Linked DNA regions of Homo sapiens: region 1 is linked to region 2. Evidence: promoter capture Hi-C in human tissues and cell types (Jung and others, 2019). All regions are on one chromosome and are shown on one strand. The core of a region is centred on a gene start or on the middle of the fragment in contact, and the rest is flanking DNA. Distances in the headings are between cores, read along the strand shown. Region 1 has its middle 6.8 kb from the start of PBX3-DT. Region 2 holds the start of MAPKAP1 (MAPK associated protein 1).

Region 1 (6,764 bases), core at 4,022-6,521, 34 kb after region 2:
TCTCAGCTCACGGCAACCTCCGCCTCCTGGCTTCAAGTGATTCTCCAGCCTCAGCCCCCACAGTAGCTGGGATTACAGGCATGCGCCACCACACCCGGCAGATTTTTTGTATTTTTGGTAGAGATGGGGTTTCTCCATGGTAGTCAGGCTGGTCTCGATCTCCTGACCTCAGGTGATCTATCTGCCTCGGCCTCTCAAAGTGCTGGAATTACAGGCATGAGCCACCTCGCCTGGCCAATAGAATATCATTCAGTCTCAAAAAGGAAATAAATTCTGACACATGCTACTATATGGATGAAAGTTGAAGTGAAATAAGCTAATCACGAAAGGACAAATACTTCGTGATTTCACTTCTAAGAGTTATCTACAGTAGTGAAATTCATAGAGACAGAAAGTAGAATGGAGGTTGCCAGGGGCTGTGGGGAAGAGGGATTGGAGAGTTAGTGTTTAATGGGTACAGGTTTTCAGCTTGGAATGATGAAAAAGCTTTGGAGAAAGATAGTGGTGATGGTTGCACAACAATGTGAATGTTCCTAATGGCACTGAACTATACCTCACAATATTTAAAATGGTAAATTTTATGTTATGTATATTTTACCACAATTTAAAAAAAGATACACATTTATAAGGAACCAAGTGGTGTTGCGGACTTAAAAAGGGAATACTTAGTTCCTTAGGGGGCTAAGAAAGGCTTTCTCAAGGAGACACTTGAGCAGGGAGAGAACTTGTATGGTGGAAAGGGTCAGAAGTACTGATCTCAGTTCCACTCTGTCACTTAGTAGCAGACCTTGTACATGTAACCTTGGACAAGTGACATAACTCCTCAAGAGGCAGTGTAGAATGGGTGTTTGTCACAAGGATGCTGAACCAGATGACATTTTTAGTTTTTTTGAGACGGAGTCTTGCTCTGTCACCCAGGCTGGAGTGCAATGGCGCGATCTCGGCTCACTGCAACCTCCGCGTCTCCTAGGTTCAAGTGATTCTCCTGCCTCAGCCTCCTGAGTAGCTGGGATTACAGGCACATGCCACCACGCCTGGCTAATTTTTGTATTTTTAATAGAGACGGGGTTTCACCATGTTGGCCAGGGTGGTCTCGAACTCCTGACCTCAGGTGATCCACCCACCTTGACCTCCCAAAATGCTGGGATTACAGGCGTGAGCCACTGTGCCCAGCCTCAGATGACTTTTTTGTTTTTGTTTTCACTTTTTTTTTTTTTGAGACAAGGTCTCACTCTGTTGCCCAGGCTGGAGTGCAGTGGCGTGATCTCGGCTCACTGCAACCTCCTGGGTTCAGGCGATTCTCCCACCTCTGTCTCCTGAGTATCTGGGGCTGCAGGCATGCACCATCATGCCTGGCTAATTTTTGTATTTTTTGGCAGAGATGGAGTTTCATCATTTTGGCCAAGCTGGTCTTCAACTTCTGATCTCAAGTGATCTGCCCCCCTCAGACTCCCAAAGTGCTGGGATTACAGGTGTGAGCCACCGTACCTGGCCAGATGAGGTAGATGAAGTTTTTGAATCACAGTTCATTTACCAGCCATGTGACCTTGGTCAAATTAAAAAGTGGACACCTTTTTTCTTTCTTCCTCATATCTATAGGCTGTACAAAAAGTAGACGTCTTTAAGTCTTCCTTTCTTCAACTATAGATGGGGAGGTTAAAGCCCATCTCATAGGGTTGTTGTGAAGGTGTCATTAGATGTTATATGAGAAACCACTAGCACAGTGCCTGCCACAAACTAAGCACTCAGTGTCAGCAGCTTTTATTTCCACAACTGTAGCTGTACAATAGGGTTAACATTACTTGTCTTCAAAGTTTTTTTTTTTTTCTGAGATGAAATTTCACTCTTGTTGCCCAGGCTGGAGTGTAATGGCACGATCTCGGCTCACTGCAACCTCCGCCTCCCGGGTTCAAGTGATTCTCCTGCCTCAGCCTCGCAAGTAGCTGGGATTACAGGCATGTGCCACCACGGCTGGCTAAGTTTGTATTTTTAGTAGAGATGGGGTTTCACCAGGTTGGCCAGGCTGGTCTCAAACTCCTGACCTCAGGTGATCCACCCACCTTGGCCTCCCAAAGCGCTGGGATTACAGGTGTGAACCACCGCGCCCGGCCGGGTGTTTATTATTTTAAGCCAAGAAGTTTTGGGATAATTTGTTTCACAGCAATAGGTGATGAATATAGAGGAGAATCGGAGTTTGAAGCACTGGCAGGCCAGATGAGTGAGGTCTGGTTGTTAGGAGAGGTGTTGGAATTCTCAAAATGAAGCAAGAGGTGGAATTACAGGTGCAGGGCTGGCTGTGGGGTGAACTAACTAGATTGTAGAGGGTGAAAGGGTAGGAAGAGAAGAGAAAAGAAAAGGAAGAGAAAAGGAATAGGAAGATGAGGGAAGCAGATAAAGAGAAAGGAAAAGGAAGAGAAGGAGAAAGAAGAAAGGGGAAGAGAGAAAAGAAGAGGAGGAAGAGGAGGGCAGAGAACTGAGGATGAATCTTGGGATGTGGAGGACCGGGAAGCAAATGTTAGAGATTTACCTTTTACAATGGACTCTCATATTCATTGTAATGATAGTTTTTACTATACCTCAGTGTGTTAAGTCTTTTTTTTTTTCAGATGGAGTCTCGCTCTGTTGCCAGGCTGGAGTGCAGTGGCGCGATCTCGGCTCGCTGCAACCTCTACGTCACGGGTTCAAGCGATTCTCCTGCCTCAGCCTCCGAAGTAGCTGGGACTACAGGCGTGTGCCACCACACCCAGCTATTTTTTGTACATTTTTAGTAGAGACGGGGTTTTACCATGTTGGCCAGGATGGTCTCCATCTCTTGACCTCGTGATCCGCCCGCCTCAGTCTTCCAAAGTGCTGGGATTACAGGCATGAACCACTATGCCTGGCTGGTAGGTTATTACTATTATTACTGTCATTGACAGATGAGAAAGCTGAGAGGCTAAATAACCTGACCGAGGCCAAGTAGCCATTTAGTGGTGGAGCTAGGATTCAGATCCAAGTTTGCCTGATCCCAGATGCAGAGCTCTTAACTACAGGGCTACAGTGCCTACAACTGTACTCTTTCTATGTTAGACCCTGGCTTCCTTATTAATTAGGATTAAGTTTGGCTGCCTGTACTGGAAATAAGTATATGGCAGTGGATTTAATAAGACAGAAGTTTATTCCTTCTTCTGTAAGAGCCGTGTGGAAGAAGCAATCAAGGGTTGGTGTTATCCCTTAGATGGTGGCTTCATGGTGCCACCCGTGCCCCAGGTTCTTAAGTTTCTGCTTCACTATCCTAGTGCCTGACCTCCACTCTCAAGATCATTTCATGGGCCAAGATGACTCCTGGAGCTCCAGACATCAACTACAGGCTGGGAAAAGGAGGTGGGGAAAAGGCAAAAGGAATTTGTCTCAATTAAATTAGGTTCCTTTAAGTAGGCCTCTTAGAAATGACAGTCAATTAATCCCAGTTAAAGGCATGGTGCCCAACTAGACTGCTTTCACTTCAGATGCCAGCCACAAGTTCTGAGGTCCCCTGGCCACCTGTACTTCTAACCAACTGGCTGAAAATGTGGGTGTTCCTGTGACCCCTTTAGGTTCTATAATTTGCTAGAATGACACAGAACTTAGGAAAGCACTATACTCAGCATTATAGTTTAATTATAAGGGATATAAACCAGGGCCAGTCAAGTAGAGAGGTCAAGGGCAAGAGCTGGGAGGGTCCTGAATGCAGAGCTTCCATGCTTTTCCCCATGGTGTCAGGGTGTATCACCCTCCTGGCACATCAATGTATTCACCAACCAGGAAGCTTTTCTGGGCTTGGGTGTCCAGAGTTTTTATCGGAGTTTCATTATATAGACATGATTGATTGAATCATTGGCCTTATGACTGAACTCAATCTCCAGCTCCCTCAAAGCCCCAACACTCTAATCACATGGTTGGTCTTTCTGGTGACCAGCCACCATCCTGAGTCATCACTTTAGCATAAAATTAGATGTGATCTAAGGGCCTCATGAATAATAAAAACACTCTTATAGCTTGGGAGATTTCAAGGGTTTTAGATGTTACCTCCCAGGAATCCAATACAAAGACGAGAGGAATTTTTTTTTTTATCATACATCATCTCCCCCACTCTAGGAGCTCCTACTATGTGTCGGGCATTGTGCTAGGCTATTCCATCCATCCATCCATCAGTCCATCCATCCATCCATCCATCCATCCATCCATCCATCCACACATACATCTGTCATATAAGTGTTTATAGTGCTATATCAGCTTTTCTGCAAGATACAGAAAACCCAGCCAATAGGATTTTAAAACAGGAGATGAATTTACTCACAAAACTAGAAATCCAAGGGAAAGCAGTTGCTTCTTTGGCTCAGATGTTGGACCATGTCTGCAGACACCTAGGCTCTCCTTATCTTTCTACCCCACTTACCATGTTTATTTTTGTTTTGAATGAATGTTTTATTTTATTTACTTATTTTTTTTTTTTTTGAGACAGAGTCTCGCTCTGTCACCCAGGCTGGAGTGCAGTGGCTCAGTCTCGGCTCACTGCAAGCTCCACCTCCCAGGTCGACGTCATTCTCCTGCCTCAGCCTCCCGAGTAGCTGGGACTACAGCCGGCTGCCACCATGCCTGGCTAATTTTTTTGTATTTTTAGTAGAGACGGGGTTTCACCGTGTTAGCCAGGATGGTCTCGATCTCCTGACCTCGTGATTCACCCGCCTCAGCCTCCCAAAGTGCTGGGATTACAGGCGTGAGCCACCGCTCCTGGCCCTGAATGTTTTTTTTTAAAGTATTTACAGATAAAAATTAGAAGGTGGTGGGGCCGGATGCGGTGGCTCATGCCTGTAATCCCAGCACTTTGGGAGGCCGAGGTGGGTGGATCATGAGGTCAGGAGATCGAGACCATCCTGGCTAACACGGTGAAACCCTACCTCTACTGAAAATACAAAAAATTAGCCAGGCGTGGTGGTGGGTGCCTGTAGTCCCAGCTACTCCGGAGGCTGAGGCAGGAGAATGGCGTGGATCCAGGAGGTGGAGCTTGCAGTGAGCCGAGATTGCGCCACTGCACTCCAGCCTGGGCGACAGAGCGAGACTCCGTCTCAAAAAAAAAAAAAAAAGAAAAAAAAATTTAGAAGGTGGTACAGAGAGTTCCCTAATATCCCATACACTATTTCCTCTATTATTAACATCTCACATTAATATGGTACTTTTTGAAATTAATGAACCAATGTGAAATGTTATCACTAACTGAAGTGTATACTTTATTCAAATTTCCATAGTTTTTTTTTTTTTTCTTGAGACGGAGTCTCGCTCTGTTGCCCAGGCTGGAGTGCAGCGGCGCCATCTGGGCTCACTGCAAGCTCTGCCTTCTGGGTTCACGCCATTCTCCTGCCTCAGCCTCCCGAGTAGCTGGGACTACAGGCGCCAGCCACCACGCCCGGCTAATTTTTTTAAAAAATTTTTTTAGTAGAGACGGGGTTTCACTGTATTAGCCAGGATGGTCTCGATCTCCTGACCTCATGATCCGCCTGTCTCGGCCTCCCAAAGTGCTGAGATTACAGGCGTGAGCCACCGCGCCTGGCCAAATTTCCATAGTTTTTACCTAATATCCCTTTTCTGTTCCAGGATCCCATCCAGAATGCTAGATTACATCCAGTCCTCATTTCTCCTTAGGCTCTTCTTGGTTGTGACAGTTTTTCAACTTTTCTTACTCTTTATGACCTTGACAGTTACAAGGAGTACAAAGACCAGAGAAATTACTGGCCAGGTATTTTGTAGAATGTCCTTCAATTAGTATTTGTGTAATATTTTTCTAATTATTGGTCTGGGATTACAAGCTTTGGGAGGAAGACCACAGATATAAACCACCAAACCATGTTGATTTTGTCTTCATATTTTCATTTCACTATCACAGGTGGCTGCTATGAGCACTCCAGATTCAGGACTACTTTCAAAGATGGAAAGAGCCAGGAAAATGAAGGAGAGAAGAGCCATGTCTGTCCCCTTTTTTTTCTTTTTCTGAGACAGGGTCTCGTTCTTTGCCCAGGCTGGAGTGCAGTGGCCAAATTGCTGGGATTACAGGCATGAGCCAGCACGCCTGGCCTATCTGTCCCTTTTTTAAAAAATTAGCAAGGTCACCCCTCCTCCTGACAGGCTCAGAAGGCAGGGGACAGGATGCTCATACTTGTTTTAGACCTTGATTGGGACTGAGCACATTGTCTTCAGAATAAAATCAGGCTTCTATTGGTGTAGAAGGAAGTAAGCCAATGGATGGCAGGCCAACAACTGGTCATGTCGGCCCCAACTGTCTATTCTGTATGAAACTGCACCGTACTGGGTGCTATGAAGGGACATAAGAGAGGGAGCATTCTACCAAATTTTTCTAGAAATTATACATTCTGATAAATATTCTCTTTTAAAGGCATCACTTTAGAAGGATGGACTGTTATCCCACTAAATCTTTGGTAACTCAATCAAATCCATCCTTAGAAGATAAACGTTGGTCATATGTCACATGTGCTATCAACTGTAAAGACCAATTCTAAAGAGTCATTCCTGTCTGGGTGCAGTGGCTCATGCCTGTAATCCCAGTACTTCGAGATGCTGAGGTGGGATGATCCCTTGAGGCCAGGAGTTTGAACGCAGCCTGAGCACCATAGCGAGACCTCATCCATACAAAAAAAATACAAAAAATTAGCTGGGTGTAGTGGTGTGCACCTGCAGTCTCAGCTACTCAGGAGCCCTGAGGCAGGAGGATTGCCCAGGAATTCAAAGTT
Region 2 (6,142 bases), core at 1,381-3,880:
TGAAATGAATCGTAGATCCTCGAAGTATTTATTAACTGGAAAAGTTATTAGCAGAAACTGGAATTTACCTCCCTTGCCTGGTACTCAAGCCCTCACTGACTCTGACCCCTACCGCCCCTCCAACTTTACGTCCTTGTACCCTGCTAAAAGAAGCAATGACTTGCATGACTCAGGCTGTAAACTCACTCACCAGTCTAAAACCATGCCTCAAGCATTATACCTTTGTATCTTATAGCTATTTATTTCGGGGGACTTTACCACGTACCAGGCCCTTTATCCCCATTAGTTCAATAAATATTCACAACACTCCATGTGGTCAATATTATTCCCTAACCCAACCCCTAGTTGAAGAAAGTGATGCTTGGAGTTATGTGTCGAAGGTCACATATCCTGTAAGAACAGGGACCAGGAATTGAATCCAGAGTCCATGCCTATTTTCTATAGACTGTCTTCTCTGCTCATATTCAAAGCTGAGCTAACTAACCTACCTGCCATCTCCTTGCCTTGGAAGAGCACAGTCTTTACATTTAAAAGATTTCTGTACCATTCATTTTAACATTCATATGTTTTGTCCTATATAACTTTTGGTTTCAATATGTACTTGCATAAAAAGAGGGAGATGATGTGAGAAAAAGGCAAGACATGTAATGGAAAAAGCACAGATTTAGGCATCAGACAGACCTGGGTTTGAATCCTGGCTCTGTCTCCTACCAGCTGTGTAATTTATTATGGGTCTTCCTAATCTGTAAATTGAGGTTAAAATGATTAAACAATAGAAACCCCTATATAATACCCAAATACTCAAAGTTTAGTTTACCTCAAATTATGAAGCATTACCTGGCCACATCCCATCCCTCAAAGGTGAATAACCCATTCCCCTCCCGCACCTACCACTGTCACAAGAACTCTCACACAATGTACTTATCACGGTGTTAGAATTATTCATTTCCCTTATCTCTCTTTCACTAAATTGAGCTCCCTGGCAGCAAAGACTGAATCTTATATTTATCTCTAATTGCCTAGCATGGTACCTGGCATATATATACATATCCATATTCAGTAAACATTTGCTAAGTTAAATAATTGTAGATAAAAATGAGCGCTTATAGAATTCTAGAGGAAAAATCATTTCCAGGTGGGGTTGTCCTGAATTGGTTGGGTGAGGCCAACTCAGCTGAGCCGTGGGAAGCGTCTCAATAGACTGAAAGAGAAAAGGGGAAACCTAGGCAAGGTAGGGAGAATGTTCTACAAAAATCAATGGAATAGGAAAGAACAAAAATGATTAGAGATCCTACTTATTCAGAGTAATGGATCAGGATGGGGTAATTAAAGAAGGAGACCTTTTCAAGCATAACTGGAAAGGTAACCAGGAGCCAGATTAGGAGATGTAAGGGGGTGTAAGTGCAGTCTGGGACACACAGTAGTTGAAGGTAGGCATGAGCACACAGATGAATGGGAAAGGGCTACCAGCATGCCCCAAATCCCGCAGGTGTGTAAACTGAAAAACATGAAAACAATTATTGCTTCATCAAGAACTCTTTCCGTGTTTACTAGGTACCTTGTGTGGGCTCATAAAATATAAGGAATAAAACCCATATCTAGGCTTCTGCTCAAGTGGGTTTTAACATTACGGATCCACCTCTCCTGCTTGTCAGAGAATGAGAACGCTGCTTTTTTTAAACCAATGGGTCTCCATTTGACTCTTCACACCTGGGAAAGTTTTGAACTTTGCCGATTTGGGTTTATAACAACATGGTGCTTTGTACAGTGCCAGGTACTGTGGTGGGCTTCCAAAGTGACTTTCATTCATTCAAAAGGAAGTTTTAACCAATTTCTGAGTCAATTTGGGGGTCTCTGGTTAAAGTCATAATCTTGTTTACGCTACAATCTCTTTTTCCCAGCCTTAAACAAATCTAAATGACTCCTTGCCACTCCCATAAACAAAGAATGAATCAAAGTTCCAGCAGCACTGTAGCTAGAAAAAAGTCTGTAAGGCTGTTAACCTCTTTAAGGGGGAGGGGGAGAAGGGACGCAAGGAAACAAGGACCACACAGTCAATGCTTGAAAACCTTGATTTTCACATTATGAAGACCAGGGCACCTAGATATTGCCAAGTGCAGGCCCAGAAACTGCCGGAGTCAACTACACCCCCCACCCCCACACTACCAGGTCAGCTGGCTTCTTTTCCCCTAAACCACACACCCGCCTCAGACTCCTGACAGCCTCCAGTTCTGGAAATGGCCAGGAAACGAACGCGCCCGGGCCACCTGAACAAGGGCCCGGCAGGCGGCCCGCCGGGCAGCGCTGAAACTGGAGGGGTGAGAGGGCCGCCAGGTGGGCAAGCTGGTGGGCTGACGGACGGGCGGGGAGCTGGCGGCTGGGGCAACCTTTACCTGAAGCTGCTTCCACACTACGGGCCGGGTCGGCCCCGGGACACGTTCCTGAGGGGAGGGCCCGGCTCCCCCACGCCTCCCGGCCCCTGCCCCGAGCTCTGCACTCTCGGGATCCACGGGGACCGGCGCTCCTCCCGGCCCGCTCAGCTGCCGCTTCCCGGGTTAGCCCTCATGCCCCTGCTGCTCGCCGCCGCCGGCCGGCCGAGCAGCAGCCCTATTACCCCGAGCCGCACACGACCCGGAACCACACCCCGGCGTTCCGGAAGTCCCCGACCGGGAAGGAGCCTCTGGCTGGGGACGTAGTGCGCAAGCCCCAGAGCTGAAAGCAAGGAGCGGTAGCTTCCCGCGGGGCGGGGCCGGGAGGGAGGCCGGGCGCATGCGCGCCGCTTCTCCAGTGCAGGGAAAGGCCTGGGTCGGAGACTGAGTTCTGGCAAGATGCGCCAGTGCCTGGACTTGCCTTGAGCAGGAATCAGTGTTAGGCTTCTCCATCGAATCTTCTTTCTCCCCATTTCCACGGAGAAAAGCCCTTAGTTCGTCCAGAAATGAGTGATGAGGCAGCTCAGCCTCTCTGAGAAAGACCTGGGTTCAAATGCCAGCTCTTATAACTTGCTGTGTGTCCTAGGATGTGACACTTCTCTCTGAGCCTCGGGTTTTCCCATCCAGGGCAATAGTTTCAACTTTAGAGTATATTGCTGTGGGAATCGAATGGGATGATGCTTGAAAAACACCCAGCATAGTGCCTGACACATAGTAAACATGCAGTCAATGTTAGTTATTTCTCTTATTATAATATCTGTAATATGGAGGTGACAATAATCTTCCTCAAGCCCTGCTGGGAGGTTTCCAGGAGATGTAGGAGGACTGGCACAGGGCAGAAGTTCAGTGTGTCTCATGCTGCTCCCTTCCTCTCTCACGGAGGAAATCAGTAGAGAAAGCCACGATGAAGGGGGAAAAAGGATTCAGGGAGTGCAGTGAGAGTGGTTCTCCCACCTGAAAGATGCTTGGGGAAGTCTCTCAAAAACGCACCTTAGCAAAAGAAAAAACTCAAGGTTGAATTTCAGCCCTGAGGGACCCCTGCCCAATTTTAAACTTATTAATAAATATGCCATGGGGCCAGGCACGGTGGCTCACACCTGTAATCCCAGCACTTTGGGAGGCCGAGGAGGGCAGATCACTTGAGATCAGGAGTTCGAGACCAGCCTGGCCAACATGGTGAAACCCTGTCTCTACTAAAAATACAAAAATTAGTCTGGCGTGGTGGTGTGCACCTGTAGTCCCAGCTACTCAGGAGACTGAGGCAGGAGAATGGCTTGAACCCGGGAGGCAGAGGTTGCAGTGACCCAAGATCAGGCCACTGCACTCCAGCCTGGGTGACAGAGACTCTGTCTCAAAACAAAAAAACAAAAAACACGGTGGGTCTACCCATGTATTTCAAATATGGTCATCCATCACTTAATGATGAGGACACAAGAAATGCATCGTTAGCTGATTTTGTGGTTGTGTAAACATCATAGACTGTACTTACACAATGTCAGAGCCTACTACACACCTAGGCTGTTTGGTATTAGCCTATTGCTTCTAGGCTGCACACCTGTACAGCATGTTACTGTACCATATACTGTAGGCAATTCTAACACAATGGTATTTGTGTATCTAAACATCTCTAAATGCAGAAAAGGTACAATTAAAAGACCATGTTATAATCTTAGGGGACCACCATCATATGCACTCTGTCATTGACCAAAACATCCTCATTCCACGCATGACCATATGTGATTGATCTCTTACTACATCCCATTACTTTATGTAATTGGTATCTTACCACATATCTATACTGGGGGAATAGTGCACCTCAGCACCCAGACACACTCTTGCACACACACCACCACAGTTCCATCAGGGACCTGTCAGAGGCACTCTAACAAAGCAGCAGGTGTGAACAAGTTTGGATATTTGATTTTCTGAGGTCACCAGGTTATCTGTTCCTTCCTAAATCTTACTCTCCATTTTCCTCTCTCTCTCTCTCGAGTTCCAATCTGAAGCACAGCTGCCTGACTGTCTCCTAGACACATAAAACTCGACCTATCTAAAACTGCTAAGCAGTTATAGATTCTAAAGAGTAAATATTTCCTAGCACTTTGAGAGACCAAGGCAGGAAGATCATCTGAGCCCAGGAGTTCAAGACCAGCCTAGGCAACATGGTGAGACCCCATCACTACCTTAAAAAATTTATCTCTATATAGGCCGGGCACGGTGGCTCATGCCTGTAATCCCAGCACTTTGGGAGGCCAAGGGGTGCGGATCACAAGGTCAGAAGATCAAGACCATCCTGTCTTAACATGGTGAAACCCTGTCTCTACTAAAAAAAAAAAAAAAAAAATACGAAAAATTAGCCAGGCATGTGGCACACACCTGTAGTCCCAGCTACTTGAGAGGCTGAGGCAGGAGAATCGCTTGAACCTGGGAGGTGAAGGTTGCAGTGAGCACACCACTGCAGCCCAGCCTGGACAACAGAGTGAGAGTCTGTCTCAAAAAAATAAAAAATAAAAAAATATATATATACACACACATATACACATATATTTTTTTTAGCCAGGTGTGGTGGTGAATGCCTGTAGTCCTAGCTGCTTGGGAGGCTGAGATGGGATGATTGCTTGAGCCCTGGGAGGTCAAGGCTGCAGTGAGACGTGATCATGCCACTGCACTCCAGCCTGGATGAAAGAGCAATGCCCTGTCTTGAAAAAAAAATTAGAAAAATAAAAAGTGAATACTCACTCTGCCACTTACAAGTTTTGTGACTTCATCTCTCCAAGTTGCTTCTCTAAATATTCTTATCTTTACCTGGAAAATGGGAATGACAGAAGTCCTACATAACCTCATTAGTTTGTTGCAAGGATAGAATGACCTAATACATGTAGCTTACATATAACAGAGCCTGGCATGTGACTATTATTTACTAATGCCTACCAGTATGAGTATACCTCAGTCAGTAAGCAATACTTATTGAGTGCCTATTGAGATTCAGTGGTGAAAAAGCCAGACGGGGACCCTACCCTTAAGAAGCCTTGTAGTCAAGTTCGACTATGGGTTTGAAATACTGTAGTTACTGTGGTAAGTTGGCATGCAGTGATATATGGTAGGATTTCAAGGACAGTATTGAGGGCCCAGTTGAGAATGGAGACTAAATGTATGGTGATACTAATATGATGGCTAGTGTGATTATTCTATAGCTAGTTGGAGCAGTCACGATACACACACCCAAAGAATGAGAAGTTGGATTGATCCAAGGAAGGATTTTGCCAGACAGGTGTGATGGGGTCATATCAGCTTTTAAGAGTGCTTAAAACAATGAGCCATAGAAAGTATGCTGGATAGGGAAGCAAGAGAATTCCAGAAAAACAGGTATCACTGGCCTAAAGGTCTCAAATAGATGTAATGGAAGTCACTGATGAAGGAAAGCAGAAGGATGGAGGTTATTGTCACAGATGGATGTTTCAACAAATAACCTCAGAGGAGGAGCCATGTGAGAGGGGGTCCCAGCTAAAGTGGAATGGGGGGAAAATCACTGAAGATGAGATAGTCAAGGAACTGAGATCCTTGTGAACGTCCATCCCAAGATGGTGGACAGACATGGGGTGAAAAGGAAACCAGACGTGCTCCCCATGGCATCTGCAACTGAGGAACAGCACTGGGGAGGTAGATGAGGAGGAGAGAGGAGAAACTAATTGGATGGCATGAGCCTCCAAGAA

What was found. Contacts are between HindIII fragments. The study calls those that stand out against the background at their distance.
Region 1: a contact is called between a fragment that was not itself captured here and the fragment with the promoter of MAPKAP1 in region 2, in 3 of the 25 tissues and cell types used here (aorta, lymphoblastoid cells and small bowel).

The regions. Positions count from the first base shown.
Region 1 is chr9:125,735,698-125,742,461 of GRCh38, forward strand. No RefSeq gene overlaps it. Among named protein-coding and RNA genes, the nearest start is that of PBX3-DT, 6.8 kb to the right of the region's middle. The HindIII fragment of the contact is 6,270 bases long and covers 2,137-6,764 here.
Region 2 is chr9:125,704,578-125,710,719 of GRCh38, forward strand. MAPKAP1 (MAPK associated protein 1) reads right to left here and starts at 2,631. Exons shown (of 12, transcript NM_001006617.3): 1 at 2,394-2,631. RefSeq lists silencers at 2,335-2,564, 2,675-2,844 and enhancers at 2,553-2,847, 2,845-3,004. The HindIII fragment of the contact is 13,511 bases long and covers 1-6,142 here.